Linked DNA regions of Homo sapiens: region 2 is linked to region 1. Evidence: promoter capture Hi-C in 16 types of primary human blood cells and fetal thymus (Javierre and others, 2016). All regions are on one chromosome and are shown on one strand. Each heading gives the region's core, a stretch centred on a gene start or on the middle of the fragment in contact. The rest is flanking DNA. Distances are from core to core; before and after follow the strand shown.

The links. The method cuts DNA at HindIII sites, captures the fragments that hold promoters and counts their contacts. A CHiCAGO score of 5 or more calls a contact.
Region 2: a fragment that was not itself captured here is called in contact with the fragment with the promoter of DNAAF11 in region 1 in 1 of 17 cell types (naive CD8 T cells); the score reaches 5.5 in naive CD8 T cells.

What each region holds. Positions count from the first base shown.
Region 1 is chr8:132,674,287-132,676,817 of GRCh38, reverse strand. It overlaps DNAAF11 (dynein axonemal assembly factor 11), which reads left to right and starts at 1,273. Exons shown (of 12, transcript NM_012472.6): 1 at 1,273-1,334. The coding sequence starts at 1,325. It overlaps LOC105375767 (a long non-coding RNA gene), which reads right to left and starts at 1,188. Exons shown (of 2, transcript XR_928665.4): 1 at 1,013-1,188; 2 at 760-926. The HindIII fragment of the contact is 7,589 bases long and covers 807-2,531 here.
Region 2 is chr8:134,708,045-134,710,575 of GRCh38, reverse strand. All of the region lies in intron 1 of ZFAT (zinc finger and AT-hook domain containing), which reads left to right. Among named protein-coding and RNA genes, the nearest start is that of ZFAT, 3.7 kb to the left of the region's middle. RefSeq lists an enhancer at 465-1,148. The HindIII fragment of the contact is 6,003 bases long and covers 1-2,531 here.

The sequences.
Region 1 (2,531 bases), core at 24-2,523:
TGGCCTGGCATTTAAGGCCCCCATTACCCCCGATCTAATCTCTCATTCTTACTGTTCGAAGATCCCTTCTATCTAGCTCTCTTTATTGCCAAACTGATGTTTCTGCTTCCCCCCATCACCTCACTCTGTTAGACTTTCCTGCCTCTCTGTCCAAGTTCATGACCTTGTCTCTACCTGGCAAACTCTAATAATTGCCAGCTGTAAATGCTTAACAGCTATTCGCTAGAAAAATTAATTTCTTTGCACTCAGCATTGCTCTAGGAATCTTCTTTTAAAATGCAAACATAATACACACATCAAGATAAGAAGCACGCACTCCATACTGTTTAAAACGACTGGGATGGGAGAAGGTTTTACCTTTTACATATTGCCCCCCTCCTTTTTCTGCAAATGGAGTAAAGAATAATAATTACTTTCATAATAATGGTACCTTTTAAAGATTCTTGGGAAGCTAACGCATTAAAGTGCTAACACTAAGATCTGAGGGTGAATGAGCTTGCTGATGTGCTTCCTAGTTTAGAATGGGAGAAGGCGCGTTGCACACTTTTGGAGAAGGGTCTGGGGAAACGTGAGGGGAGTGTGGGGCTGTAGGAGATATACTTCCTACATTTTACAATTAAGAGAGTGGAGAATAGGGAAATTGATGGAGGGGGTAATGGGTGGCGTTTCTGGAAAGCTTGTTAGCCGGAAACGAGTGTTGGAGAGTGACTTTAAAAAGCTGGAATATGACAACGACAACGAATCTTTATAGTGAGCCTGTTGTTTTCATAGTGTCTTTCATTCACTCAAATTATCTAATTAAAGCTTCACAGTGATCCTCTTAGGTTATTTCTCATCTTACAGATGTGCAAACTGAGGAGAAGGAAGTGTAAGGTCACGCCGCTGGTAGAGTTGGGGGCCAAATCCAGATCTGTTGGCTCTGGAAGCTGTAAATCAAACACAAAAAGGAAAAAGTCAAAGGCGGTCTGGAAGGCAAGCCTGGAAGGCACAGAAAAGAGAAGCGTCCTCATACTTTGTTCACTCTAAACCATTGATTCAGGGAGAGGGAAGCAGTCTGTGGCAAGTCGGAAGTGCGACGAGGACGAAGACTGGGTTTGGGTTGGGGAACCCCTGTCTGCTGAGCCCCTTCACTGCGGTCTCCTCTGCTTGCTCCGCGGAGCTCAGGAAACGCGGCTTGTTTTGGTCCCGCGCGGCCGCCGTAGAGTCCCCGTTGCCATGGCTCCTGAATTCCGACGGGGACGCGCTGAGGAGCAGGGGTGAAGGGTGAAAAGCGTCATTCGAGGTCCGGGTCCGGCTTGCGGGGTCAGCGAACTGGAGAGGCGCCATGGGCTGGAGTAAGCCCCCCTCCACCTTCCGTCCTCGATCGTTCCCCTTGTGGAAGTAGTCCCGGGTCTCGTGGGATCCTCGCCGCCCGCTCCCGCCCTGCGCTGTCGGTTCCCCCGCGCCTGGGCGGACCCTAACCCCACCCGGCCCTCCGCACCGCAGCCCCGGCTGCACCAGGTCCTCTGCAGACTGGCCGGACAGCCTGGCCTTTTCCAGCTCAGGTTCCTAATCTGTAAAATGGGCGGGGCCGTGGGAAGGGGAGGAAGAGGCAGAAAGGCACTGGACTCCAGGAAAGGGGTCGGGGAACGTGCAGGGGTTTTGGCGCCAGACACACCACGTTCCGGCCAAGTGGCTCCTTACTGGCTGTGAACGTGGGCCAGTCACTGTCTCCAAGCCGCAATCTTCGGACTCATTCCGGAAGGCAGTGTAGCCTAATGGTGGAGGGTTCCGACTCTGGAGCCAGGGTTGAAGTCCTCCCTCTTCCTGTGACTTTGAGCGAGTGACTTCACCCCTTGGGCCTCAGCTTCTTCATCTCCAAAATAATGGCAATCATACTACTGTTTTAGACACAGTAAGTGTTATAAACGTGTTTTTGTTTGTTTGTTTGAGACAAGAGTTTTGCTCTGTCGCCCAGGCTGGAGTGCAGCGGCGCGATCTCGGCCCACTGCAGCCTCCGCCTCCCGGGTTCAAGCAATTCTCCTGCCTCAGCCACCTGAGTAGCTGGGATTACAGCGTGCACCACCACGCCAGGCTAATTTTTGTATTCTTAGTAGAGACGGGGTTTTGCCATGTTGGCCAGGCTGGTCTCGAACTCCTGACCTCAGGTGATCCGCCCGCCTCGGCCTCTCAAAGTGCTGCGATTACAGGCGTGAGCCACTGCGCCCGGTAGTAAACGTGTTTCTTTAAGAATATACTAACAAACTGCAAGGTGATGCGGGTAAGTTATTTATATTGTATGAACCATTTTGATATCGACAACGTTTTTGAGCTCCCCATATGGCAGTTTTGTACAGCTCTACCTAATTGATCACTTATCATTGTAAAAATGTCATAATTAACTTTTTTTAAATCAAGAGACTGCTCCAGATGATGGGCTTTCTGCCCTGGAAGACCTGACAGCCTGCAAGTGGGAGAGGTGGGGGTCGGGGGGGAGTGATTTGTAAATGTTGAAACTCCTTTCCTAAATCAGCTACTGATATTTCTTCCTC
Region 2 (2,531 bases), core at 15-2,514, 2.0 Mb before region 1:
GATATGGGATCCTGAAACTGTAGTTTATTTGGGAATAATAGGGGATTGCAATTTAGATACATGCGCTATGCTGGATCATAGGTACGTCCAAAGAAGTTGGGGCAAATGGAAACTTTTAAAGACCCAAAAGGGAAGTCCACCTAAGCGGTTTTGAAACAAAGACCATTGGTTTCAGAGGTTTATTGCAGGAGCTGGCATTAGTCCATTGGAGACAGGTGCACCAGGCAAGTGTCCTGTGCAAGTAACAGGCTCTAAGGAATTCCTGGCATAGTTCCTGTCATAGGCATACTTGCATGAGGGCCCTTCCTTCCTATCCTCTGGCTCCATTTTGTTAGAGTTTGACATGAGTGACTCCATTTTGATAAACGTGAAATATCTTTTCGATTGGTGCCTTCCTCCTCCCACGTTGTTGCTTATATAGAGAGAATGAGTTGCCCACTTCTCCACTTCTGGAATTTACCCAAGAGTTTTAAAAAAGAACCCTGGACATATGTTGAAGTTTCCTTCAATTTCCAGCTGTACCAAATGAGAAAAGATCATATTTTAAAATGTGTTACTGTCAACTCATGGTCAGCTAATTTCTGAAAAGAGTTTCCTGTTTTGGTTAATTTAGGAAAGGGAGTACAATGAATGATAAGGAGGTGGAGTTGCATGTGGTCTACAGGGCACAGCTGTAGGTGGCAAATGAGCTGAGATGGTCATTGTGTGAATTGGAGCCGTCTTACCGCAGTGCTCCCTTCTCAGTGGGCTTCTCATTTGCCTCCGGTGAAAGGATTCCTGTTTCTTTTCTCCCCATACCTTGCAATTTACATAACTTTTGCAAGATAGCTATTGTTAAGTAGAATTAAGCTCTTGCCTAGAGCAAGGGCAGTCAAGAATCAGATATATTAAAAAGTCTCCTTAATTGCATTTCCCTTTGTAGATAGTTTCAAGCATACAGCCTCTGAAAAACTCTGCACCAAGATGGGCTGATTTAATTACGTAAAAGAGATTTAGCCTAGAGTTAAGTTTTCCCTCTCTTCTCAGCTGTTTACCCTGTTAAAGTTTCACTGATTTGCAATTTCTCAAGGGCAGGCATCAACTTTAAGGGCTGGAACATTTAGGAGGGTAGAAAGAGCACGTGCTCTGGCTCCAGAGATCTGCCTCTCACCAGATTCCTGACCTAAGGGAAGTCACAGAACCCTTGGGACCCCAGTCCCTTCACCGGCAAAGGAGACACAGTCCTGCCACAGGTGGCTGCTGATGGCATTCAGGAAATGGGGTTTGTCTCTTCCCTTCCCAGAACCAGACTTCCCAGTGTACAGCTCAGTACATTGTCATCCACTCTCTTCTTGAAAGCATTTGTGGATGGAAAGGCAGAGACTCCCAGGCTCAGGCCACCCTCCCACATCAGCCTCCTGAATAGCTGGGACTACAGGGGTGCACCACCACACCTGGCTAATTTTTGTATTTTTTGTAGAGATGGGGTGTCACCAGGTTGACCAGGCTGGTATTGAACTCAGCCTAAGAGATCCACTGGCCTCGGCCTCCTGAAATGCTAGGATTATAGGCTTGAGTCACTGTGCCCAGCCGAGTAATTTTTTTTAAATAAGTCATTTTTAAAAATTAAATTAAATTAATTTATTGGCACGGAGTTTTGCTCTTTGCCCAGTCTGGAGCACAATGGTGTGATCTTGGCTCACTGCAACCTCTGCCTTCTGGGCTCAAGCGATTCTCCTGCCTCAGCCTCCCAAGTAGCTGGGATTATAAGCATGCGCCACCACGCCTCGCTAATTTTGTACTTTTAGTAGAGGTGGGGTTTCACCATGTTGGTCAGGCTGGTTTCCAACTCCTGACCTCAGGTGATCCGCCTGCCTCAGCCTCCCAAAGTGCCAGTATTACAGACGTGAGCCGCTGTGCCTGGCCGAGTAATTTTTTTTTAAAAGAGAAAAGAAAAAGCAGAGCAAAACAAAATAGACATTTTAAACATCTTACAGATTTAAAGTTGCCTCCTTTTTTTTCAAGGAACACAAAATATATAGATGATTGAGTTTACTTATAAAGATAATGCTTGGCATATTTATAGAAAAACACGGACTTAAAATTGGGTAACATAATCTTTTTTTAAATTAAAAAAACTGTAACGACATATTTGTTTCTTTACGGGGTATAATGTGATGTTATGATTTATGAGTATAATGTGGAATAATTAAATCAAGCTAATTAACATATCCATCAGCTCAAATAGTTATCATTTTGTGGTAAGTAAACATTTAAAATTTACTCTTAGCAAATTTGAAATGTACGTTATTACTGTATTCACCATGCTGTGCAATATGTCTCAAAGAAAAAAACGATTCCTCTTGTCTAATTGAGGCTTTGTAGCCTTTGATCATCATTTCTTCCTACACCTTCAGGCTCTGGTACCCACCATTCTACTCTCTGCTTCTTTGAGCTCCATTGTTTTAGAGTTCACATGTAAGAGAAAACATGCAGTGTTTGTCCTTCTGTGCTGGCATATTTTACTTAGGACAGTGTTCTCCAGTTTCATC